Regions from separate parts of the Homo sapiens genome. Here region 2 is linked to region 1. The links are contacts of gene promoters, found by promoter capture Hi-C in human tissues and cell types (Jung and others, 2019). All regions are on one chromosome and are shown on one strand. The core of a region is centred on a gene start or on the middle of the fragment in contact, and the rest is flanking DNA. Distances in the headings are between cores, read along the strand shown.

Region 1 (5,413 bases), core at 2,106-4,605:
CTGAATCGATATTCTAATTCTGAACACACTGGAATCAGCTAGCAACCCCACATCAGCTTGGTTCCAACAGTTGCCCAGTTCATGGAAAGCCTTCTAATTTAGTTTACTTGGGATAATTTTACTTATTTTGCTTTACTCTTGTGGAATATATTGCTATTGTACTCTTTGTGTAGGAGTGCAGGATAAGCTTACTGAATGTTTTCTTAAACTGAATACTTATTAATCTTCCAGATATCACCTTTTGTCAGAACTTGGAGTTATGAATGGCCCTCACTATACTGATGTTTTCTGAGCTCCTCTCTACTCTGAACATAAGGGACCCTAATAGTTAAGCAGGAATATCATCACCCCTATTCAGCCTGAAGAAGTTACAGAAGATGCATCTTCATCCCTCCGAAACTTTTAGGATTAAAGTTTCTCTCATAATAGGGAGGAGGCAAATGTCAGAGGAATGTGAACCAGAGCAACTCCATCTTGAATAGGAGCTGGGTAAAATGAGGCAGAGACCTACAGGGCTGCATTCCCAGACAGTTAGGCATTCTCAGTCACAGGATGAGATAGGAGGTCAGCACAAGATACAGGTCATAAAGACCTTGCTGATAAAACAGGTTGCAGGAAAGAAGCTGGCCAAAACCCACCAAAACCAAGACGGCGATGAGCATGACCTCTGGTCATCCTCACTGCTACACTCCCACCAGCGCCATGACAGTTTATAAATGCCACGGCAATGTCAAGAAGTTACCCTATATGGTCTAAAAAGGGGAGGCATGAATAATCCACCCCTTGTTTAGTATAAAATCAAGAAATAATCATAAAAATGGGCAATCAGCAGCCCTCAGGGCTGCTCTGTCTATAGAGTAGCCATTCTTTTATTGCTTTACTTTCTTAATAAACTTGCTTTTGCTTTGCACTGTGGACTTGCCCTGAATTCTTTCTTGTGTGAGATCCAAGAACTCTCTCTTGGGATCTCGATCGGGACTGCTTTCCTGTAACATCTCCTTTTGCTTGGCAAATCTGATCCTGAAATCTTTTGGTGCTAGGTTGTGGGAAAGGTGGGAAGGACTGATTCACTTTTTCATTCTGAGCACCACCCACAAACTTTTGGGGGCTGAAATCTCAAGTTCAGGAGTTTCTCAGGGATGCTGTGGCAGTCTAGGAAGTGCTGGCCATTCCTGAGGCCCTGGCAGGGACAGTTGGGACTAGACGATGGTGGCAGGTGAGGGAGACTCAGAAGGTGTTGATTCCATATCTTGAAGATCTTCTATCCATTTTACAGATGAAACAGTCCCAGAGAGTAAATGTCATCTCTATGCAGCTGTCCCCAAATTTCTACCTTTAGCCCTGACTAGGCCCTAGGCTCCAGGCAACCTGGGTATGTCCCAGTCATCTAAAGAATAAAGGCTGGCTGCAGTGGCTCATGCCTGTAATCCCAGCACTTTGGGAGGCTGAGGCGGGTGGATCACTTGAGGTCAAGAGTTCAACATCAGCCTGGTCAACATAGTGAAAACTCATCTCTACTAAAAATAAAAAAAATTAGCCGGGCATGGTGGCAGGTGCCTGTAATCCCAGCTACTCGGGAGGCTGAAGCAGGGGAATAGCTTGAACCTGGGAGGCAGAGGTTGCAGTGAGGCCCACTGCACTTCAGCCTGGGTGACAGAGTGAAACTCCATCTCAAAAAATAAACAAAAATACACTCTTACTTCCCCAGCTCCTGGCACTTACACTGCCCCAGGCTCCTCCCTTACCCCATCTATCCATCCAGCAATGACAAAAATCCAAAATTTTCCTCTGCTCTTCCCTAGCACTTACAGCATTCCTATTGATTCTAGCCCAAATAGATCTCAAAACTGTCCCCCTCCTCTCCATCTGGAAGTTGCCTCCTAGTCTGCCTCTGTTGCTGCCACAGACTTCCCAGCATCCGCCTGTTCTGCCTTTGCCTCCACCCCCTCCCATTCCCAGTCAGCAACCTACTGGAAGTTGCAAATTCCTAATTTGGCAGCCTGCAGCTGTGATCCATAGAAGGGAATGTTTGGAATGTCTTGGGGATGGGTGGAGACTGGGTGCTCAATTGTCCCATCTGACCCCCAAGGGCCAAATTAAGACTAATGAGCTTCCAGAGGTTGTCCCTATGGCCAAGTGTTTGGCACCTCCCCATAAGGGAGGAGACCACCCCTCATATTGTCTTATGCCCAATTTCTGCCTCCAAAGAAAGAAAAAGTAAAAACTAAAAGGCAGAAATGAAATCCACAAACAGACAGCCTGGTGCCACACCCTGGGCCTGGTAAAGATCGACCCCGACCTAATCGGTTATGTTAACTATAGATTACAGACATTGTATAGAAAAGCACTGTGAAAATCCCTATCCTGTTCCAGTCTAATTACCGGTGCTTGCAGCCCCTAGTCACATACCCCCTGCTTGCTCAATCAATCATGACCCTCTCACGCACACCTCCTTAGAGCTGTGAGCCCTTAAAAGGGACAGGAATTGCCCATTCAGGGAGCTCGGCTCTTGAGACAAGAGTCTTGCCCATGCCCCTGGCCGAATAAACCCCTTCCTTCTTTAACTCGGTGTCTGAGGAGTTTCGTCTGCGGCTTGTCCTGCTACATCCATAGGGCCGCCCTTCTCTAAAGTTGTTGTAACCTTCCCCCAAGCAGGAATCCACTTCTGCTTTAGGAAGCAGTGGGAAAAAGACCATGCTTTAGAGTCAAGACAGTCCTAAATTAAAATATCGGCTCATTTAATCAATTTCTGCTTCAGTTTAACCGTCTTCAAAATGGAGATAATAATAACACTAATTACCCAAGTGGGGTACTGTGAGAATGAGCTATACAGCACATATCTCAATGCTTGGCTCACAGTAGGTGCTTAATGCAATCAATGAAAGCTATGATGTGCATTATAAGGAATCAACAGACAGCACTGTCCAGGGAAGACTAGACTCACTCATGAAGTGTTAAGTTCCCCATCAGTAGAGCGTGTGCAAGCACTTCTTGGTGCCCAAAGGATTCCAGCACCCACAACAGGTTGGCCTAACTCTTAAGGTCTCTCCAGCTTCCAGAGATCATGCTCCTCAGGGTCTGACTTCTAGTCCCCACGCTTCAAGTAACACCGACCAGGCACGTGTGCCCAGCGTGCACCCCGCCTGTCGGTCACCGCCTACTGTCAATAAAGTTGATTTGAGGCGGCTCCAGGCAGAGGGGCACGGCCACCCACACGCCACCTCAGCCCGGCCCCGCGGCCCCTCACCCGGTGGGCGGGTGGGCGGGTCACGCAGCCGGCGCGCCTTGCCATTGGCCCGCGCCGGTGGAGGCGGGGCCTGCTCACGTCTGCCGGCCCCTCTGTTGTCGTTTGGCAGCGGATAGAGGACACGACCAAGATGGCGGCGGTGTCTGGCTTGGTGCGGAGACCCCTTCGGGAGGTAGGCAGCAGCGCGCGGCCTGTATTCCCACGCGACCCCTGCCCACCCTGCGTCCCGCCGTCATCTTCCTCTCTCCCTGCCAGGTCTCCGGGCTGCTGAAGAGGCGCTTTCACTGGACCGCGCCGGCTGCGCTGCAGGTAACAGGCGCGGGTGCTCGTCGGACGAGGGCGGGGAGGGTCCCCCCTTCTCTCGGGAAGGAGGCCGGAGTCGCGCCTGCGCTGTGGCCTTCCGGCGCCGTGGGCCTTGGGTTTGCGGAGCCAGCATCCTCCGTGGAGCTCCTGCTGCCTCTGTCGCCGCCTGGCAATTAGCACACCGGCGAGTCACCACCTCACAGCTGGCTGGGCAATGGGGGAAAACTAAGACTAGGCGTTTCCTCCCTCACTCCATGTTTTTTTCTTTAAATTGCAGCAAAATAGACCTAACTTAAAATGTACTTTTTAGAAGTGTATAATTCAGTGGCATTAAGTACATTCACCATGTTGTACAACCATTAACCACCATCCATTTCCAGAACTTTTTAATCATCCCAAGCAGAAACTGTCCATTACTCGGTAACTCCTCATTTCCCTTCCCCAAACCCCTGGTAACCCCTGTTGTACTTTTCTGTCTTTATGAGGTTGCCTATTCTAGAACTTCTTATAAGTGGCATCATTTGTCCTTTTGTGTCTGGCTTATCTCAGCGTAATGTCCTCAAGGTTCATCCATGTTGTAGCATGCGTCAGAGTTTGATTCTTTCCTAAGGCTGAATAATATATATATGTATATTTTTTTGAGATAGTCTCCCTCTGTCACCCAGGTTGGAGTGCAGTGGCGCGATCTCAGCTCACTGCAACCTCCACCTCCTGGGCTCAAGGGATTCTCGCGCCTCACACTCCTGAGTAGCTGTGATTAGATGCCGGTGCCACCACACCGGGCTAATTTTTGTATTTTTAGTACAGACAGGGTCTCACCATATTGCCCAGGCTGGTCTTGAACTCCTGGCCTCAAGTGATCTGCCTGCCTTGGCCTCCCAAAGTGCTAGGATTACAGGCATGAGCCACCTCGCTCAGCCCGACATTTTCTTTTTTTTTTTTGAGACGGAGTTTTGCTCTTGCTGCCCAGGCTAGAGTGCAGTGGCACTATCTCAGCTCACTGCAATCTCTGCCTCCTGGGTTCAAGCAATTCTGCCTCAGCCTCCCGAGTAGCTGGGATTACAGGCACCCGCCACCACACCCGGCCAATTTTTGTATTTTTAGTAGAGAATGGGTTTCACCATGTTGGCCAGGGTGGTCTCGAACTCCTGACCTCAAGTGATCCACCTGCCTTGGCCTCCCAGAGTGCTGGAATTACAGGTGTGAGCCACCGTGCCTGGCCTTGTTTTGTCTATTGTGAGTAATGCTGCTGTGAACATTGATGTGCAAGTATATGCTTGAATCCCTGCTTTCAATTATTTGGGGCATATACATAGAAGTGGAATTGATGGATTGTATGTTAATTCTCCTCTCCTTCCTTTTTTTAACTAGATTTTACCATTCATTATATTAAAAGAGCAACTCCTACATTCTGGATGCAAAGTATTTGGCAGTACTTGGCACCTAGTGAGCACTCAGTACATTAACACATGCAAAGACCAACTATGTGTAATAGAAATGTTACTTTTAGAATTCTTTGAGTTTTTAGAGAGAAGCTTGTTCTAGTGTTTTTATATTGTATGCTGTGGGCAGCCTAGGTAAATATAAAGGAAGAAAATCTTAGTTGAATCCCAAACAATTCTGTATTGACTGTTTTTGCATACCTGTGACAGGTGACAGTTCGTGATGCTATAAATCAGGGTATGGATGAGGAGCTGGAAAGAGATGAGAAGGTATTTCTGCTTGGAGAAGAAGTTGCCCAGTATGATGGGGCATACAAGGTAACTAAAATATATGAAAGTTATACAAAATTGAGGTCACTGTTACCCCCAGATACACTTAAGGGATCAACTCTTAATTGTAGGTTAGTCGAGGGCTGTGGAA
Region 2 (5,413 bases), core at 1,307-3,806, 200 kb before region 1:
CAGGGCCCACGCAGGTCTCTTACCAGGTGTGCCCCACCCCCAGGCTTCTGACACTCCCCCAGGATGGAGGGGTGACCAGGGGCTGGCTGTTGCTTGATGGGAGGGTGCTGTGGATGGAGCCTGGATGGGCCCACTGAAGTGCCCACATGCGGTGTGCAAGGTCCCTCCTCCTGGTACAGGATAGAGCTGAGGACAGGGGCAACAGGAGATGGGGACAGGCCAGGGGCTGAGGACCAGACATTCTGCCTGGAGTCCTACTGATGTTCAGCGTGGCCTGGGGCCAGGTTTATGGAAAACGTCCAGTCTCCGGTGTCAGAGACTACTGGCGGCATGACCTGAAGCAAGTGATGCCTCTTGAGCCTCAGTTTCTTCATCTGTGACATAGAGGCAGCTATAGTTTCCACTCCATAAAATTGATGTGAAGATTAGATAACCTGAAATAATTGGTGGAAGGGTATCCAGCCTGACTGGTGGAGGGGTCCAGGCAAGCTATGTTAGTCTTCTCCCTTCCCTCCTCTTCCCCTTCGCTCCCCTCTTCCCTCATTCCGTCCAGATGACTCAGAAGCAAGGAAATCATCTGTCAGAATGAAAAGGAAAAAAAGCGTAAAGATGAAACTAAGCTTTAAAATGCCTTATGATAAACTTGAATGTAGCCACGGCTGATGGGGACCCAGAAACAGAAGCATTGTGAGCAAGTAGTCCTTCCCTTCAGGAAACAAAAGGGGATGATGGCTTTTTAAAGTGAGGTGATCATTAGCAGAAGGCATGTTTTATTTTTTCAAATACCCACCGTCCATCCAGACAAGCACCAGACCGTAATATCTGCTAACAACACAAATTAATGGTGCTTTAAGAGCTCCCTCCTTTTGTCATAAAAGTTCAAGGGCCATTTCTTTAGAAGAGTGACTGTGGTGGTTGACCGGAAACCTCTGTCACTGAGCTGGCTGGCAGCTGGCCTTAGTTGGGAGAATGGCTTCTTCCCCAAGGTCCTAGAGGTCCGCACTGGAATACTAATAATCAAGGCCAGCTTTGTGGGCCTATGACCTGGGGACAGGGCAGTCACACGGGGCCCATGCTTGGAAGAATCTCACACTTGACTTCATGCTCTGCCATCGTGGTCTTGAAATACTTAATCATTTTTTATTAAAAGGCCCTGCATTTTCATTCTGCACTGGGTCCTGAAAATTATGCTGCCAATCCTGCTAATAATTTTTGGTTCCATTAGAGTACGCTTACTGTATGCCCAAAGTTATTGTCACATTTGCACTTCATAGAGGTTATAAGCAGGGCTGTTACTCATCCTCATTTGACAGATATAGTCTCTGCTTTAGCCACTAGGCTGCTTGTTCCCAAACTTGAGCCCACTCGAGTTGCACCATATCTAGAATAATATCTGCATTATTAGTATTTTTCTTTAAATTGGATCACTTTTTTTCTTACCTAAGTAAATATATCTTAAAAGGAAACTATATTACTGCCTTAAATGGAAAGCTATTATCACTTGTTATGCAGGGAAGGTGACCATAAAAATAATCACAATGGAGGGCCCTGGGACAGTGGCTTATGCCTGTAATCCCAGCACTTTGGGAGGTCGAGACAGGCAGATCACCTGAGGTTGGGAGTTCGAGACCAGCCTGACCAACATGGAGAAACTCCAATTCTACTAAAAACACAAAATTAGCCAGGCATGGCGGCGCATGCCTGTAATTCCAGCTACTTGGAAGGCTGAGGCAGGAGAATCGCTTGAACCCAGGAGGTGGAGGTTGCAATGAGCGCAGATCGCGCCATTGCACTCCAGCCTGGGCAACGAGAGAGAAACTCTGTGTCAGAATAATAATAATAATAATAATCACAAGGGAAACAAATCAGCCTCTTCACAGTGAGCTGGATGCTGATGCCTCCCCCAGGTGCTAAACCTAGAGCTGTTCTCTGTTAAATAGAGAGCTTGGCAAGTTAGGGAGGCATTAAAGACACACGCAGAGCCTTGCTCCTTGACACAGCAGGAGAGTTGTATTCATAGTCTACTCGAATTCTCTCCCAGGGATCTCAGTTGTCTGAGGCCACGTGCTATACCACCTAAAGTCAGCACAGATAATCTGGGCATTGTCCAGCGTAGAATGGGGTCTGGGGTATGCAAAGGGCCCAGAGCACCTGAGAGATGATGGCACTTCGTCCCCAGAGGGGTAGGCACACAAGGGCCCTTCTACCAGTGGTGGTCACCCTCAGCTGCAAATCCCTGTCACGAGGGGAATTTCTAAATTCCAGTGTCCAGAAGCCACCCCACATCACCTGGATGAGTTCCCCTCACTCTGGTCACTCTGCCCTCCCCTAGGACAAGGGCTACAGGGAGCTCCACCTGGGATGCTCTTCCTCCTGGCTTCTGAGCTCAGCCCAGTGTCCACCGGGCCTAGCTGACTCCTGCATCATGGGGCAGTAGACAAGCATGAGAATGACCAGGGCTCATTTCCCCTAAATCACCAGCACCTTTTCCTTCCTCCCCCAGATGTTATGCACCTAGTGAAATTCCTTAAAGAAATTCCGGGGGGTGCACTGGTGCTGGTGGCCTCCTACGACGATCCAGGGACCAAGTAAGTAGAAAACTCTACCTGCCAGGCCACACAGTGATGCAAACTGAATACCTTCAAACCCTGCACACCCTTTTCTGCTCTTTTGCCAGATCCATTTTCTGGCAACTTATCTCGAGGAAATTATCAGACAAGTATGCAAAGAAATGTTCTAGGAGGTTCATCACAGCCTTCATTACCACAGTGAAAAACTGGAAACCCTCTCCCTGTCCAATAATAACAGCTGACTGGCTACAGAAACTATGACATACGGTGACATAGGATATGATATATACACAAATGAAGATAGACTGCATCAAAAATGATGGTGCGGAAAGTATTTAAGGACGTGGAAAATCGCTCACCCTCTAGTGCTAAGTGAGGGGAAAAAAAAACACTGTATGGAAATACATACACTGATCACACTAAGGGGAGGAGGGGTGAGACTGTATTTCTTAGTTACTTCTTTGTGATCTTCCATATTTTCCAAATGAATGTGTATTGTATTTGTAAATAGAGCAGTACTGTTTTAACACATCTCCAGCCCCATCTGAAGCCCTTTTAGAGAGGAAGTCTTGAAGCCCTTTACCCTGTCCTTCCTGAGTGCAGCCACGTTCTCTGGACACCCCCAGGGCAGATGCTGAATGGGGAGAAGAGTGGGAACCTTGCCCCATGGGAATCCCACCACCTGATGCCCCTGCGACCCACCCCCGCATCCTGACCATCCTCTCTGGTCCTCTGCAGAATGAACGATGAAAGCAGGAAACTCTTCTCTGACTTGGGGAGTTCCTACGCAAAACAACTGGGCTTCCGGGACAGCTGGGTCTTCATAGGAGCCAAAGACCTCAGGGGTAAAAGCCCCTTTGAGCAGGTGGGTTCTGGGCCACAACCCGGCCCTATGAAGGATGCATGAGGAGCTGGGTGGTGGTAGGAAGGAGTCACCCATTCACCTCCCAGGGGCCTTAAAATTGGGAGGATTGTCTGGGGAGAGGCCCCTGGCTGTCATTCACTCCAAAGGCCAGGGTGGTCTGATTGGCCAGGAAGCTGCCTTGGCCATTTCGCAAAAGCTGGGTCATATATAGATACGCAGGTATACAGATAATTATCAGAAAAGGAAGAGGGAAAAGGAGAAAAGAAGGATGATGGGCAAGTGAGGCATGAAGGAACGAGAAAGAAATGGAGACATGGAGCTGTGTGGCGGGGAAGGGGATCCCGGGGAAAGGAGCAGGATGCCTGTCCCCATCCCTTCAGCCTCCCTGGCGAGGCATGGAGAAAACGAGGAGGGAAGTCAGAAGGCAGGGAGGAGGCCGATGCCATCATCAGACAAGAGGTGCTGGAGGGGGCAGGTGCAGGGAACCGTGTGCTGAGCTCTAGGAAGGGCACCAGGACTGGGATGGGAGGATTTCTTTCCTAAGCTAGAAAATGTGGTCTTGGTCTGTATGCGTGTGTTTCTAAGAGGATGTATTTGGGTAACTAGAAATTACTTGAACGCAGTGAAGAACGCAGGAGGCCGGTGGGCGGGGGCGGCCGGGTGTGGTTCCCGAATGTCCTGTGGGGGTGCTGCAGCAGGGCCCTAGCAAGAGGCAAGAGGTCTGAGGCTGCATGGGCAGGTGGTGCTTTCCTGCCCCAAAGCGTGGGCTCCAGACCCAGGGGAACCGGCAAGACAGAGGAGGCGTGGGAGTACAGGAAGCCCAGCATCATCTTCATCCATCTGCAACCAGCTGGCCGGGACCGACACACAAAAATGAACCAAGCACCCTAATGGGACTAAGCCGGTCTGTTCTTAGTCCTCACACTTGGGAAACTGGGTTTTAGGCAGGTAGCATCTAGAATCTCTTTTTTAATTCCTGAGAGTCAGCCACAATGATTCCAACAGCAGATTTTGCCATTTACGTTTTTTTCTTTCATAATCCAAACCTGAGCATTTTAGACACAATCCTAAGTGATTTTATTCTTCTTACATACTTATTACTAGTATATATATATTTTAGAGATAGGGTCTCGCTCTGTCACCTAGGCTGGAGTGCAGTGGCACAATCTCGGCTCACTGCAGCCTCGACCTCCTGGGCTCAAGCGATCCTCCCGCCTCTGCCTCCTGAGTAGCTGGGACCACAGGCATGTGCCACCACATCCAGCTAATTTTTTTATGTTTTCTAGAGACAGGGTCTCCCATGTTGCCCAGGCTGGTCTTGAACTCCTGGCCTCAAGTGACCCTCCTTCCTTACCCTCCCAAAGTGCTGGGATGATAGGTGTGAGCCACTGCACCCCACCCCTTATTATTAGTATTAATTAATATTATGTGGTGGTTCTGCCACTTACCAGCCAGTGACTACGGGCAGTGACCCTCTGTGCCTCAGCTTCCCCATCTGTAGAATGGGATGTAAACAGTGCACACTCCCTAGGGCCACTGTGCAGATTAAATACATAAGGCCCTGCAGAACACCACGTGGCATACAGCAAGCGCTCAAGACATGGTCGGAGTCTTCTTTTTATTGTTGCTATCATTATTGTTATTTGAGGTATCCTAGAGGGACACAGAGAATTTGTGGGGAGGGGCCAGATCTCTCCAACAACTGGTTACCCTTCAGGGCGTGAGAGCAGTTAACTGGGCTCTGATCCCATCTCTGAGATCTTGAGCAAGTTGCATCCCCTCTCTGAGCCTCAGTTTCCCCATCTGTGAAGTGGGTTAATAACATCCCACACCCCCATTTAGGTTTAGAGCACAGTGTCCATGTGGGCATGAGTTCTGAACAGCCTCACTCACTGCCTATATTTCTCTGTCTTCTCTCTCTCTAGTTCTTAAAGAACAGCCCAGACACAAACAAATACGAGGGATGGCCAGAGCTGCT

Evidence for each region. The method cuts DNA at HindIII sites, captures the fragments that hold promoters and counts their contacts. A contact is called where the count stands out against the background at its distance.
Region 2: a contact is called between a fragment that was not itself captured here and the fragment with the promoter of PDHB in region 1, in 1 of the 25 tissues and cell types used here (IMR-90 fibroblasts).

The regions. Positions count from the first base shown.
Region 1 is chr3:58,431,774-58,437,186 of GRCh38, reverse strand. It overlaps PDHB (pyruvate dehydrogenase E1 subunit beta), which reads left to right and starts at 3,355. Exons shown (of 10, transcript NM_000925.4): 1 at 3,355-3,419; 2 at 3,503-3,556; 3 at 5,203-5,310; 4 at 5,394-5,413. The coding sequence starts at 3,378. It overlaps LOC107986092 (a long non-coding RNA gene), which reads right to left and starts at 3,592. Exons shown (of 4, transcript XR_007095933.1): 1 at 2,945-3,592. RefSeq lists enhancers at 1,728-2,337, 3,380-3,599 and a silencer at 3,080-3,319. The HindIII fragment of the contact is 10,584 bases long and covers 1-5,413 here.
Region 2 is chr3:58,634,316-58,639,728 of GRCh38, reverse strand. It overlaps FAM3D (FAM3 metabolism regulating signaling molecule D), which reads left to right. Exons shown (of 10, transcript NM_138805.3): 8 at 2,504-2,588; 9 at 3,309-3,435; 10 at 5,361-5,413. FAM3D-AS1 (FAM3D antisense RNA 1) reads right to left here. Exons shown (of 4, transcript NR_134853.1): 4 at 5,289-5,413. Among named protein-coding and RNA genes, the nearest start is that of FAM3D, 30 kb to the left of the region's middle. The HindIII fragment of the contact is 6,650 bases long and covers 1-5,413 here.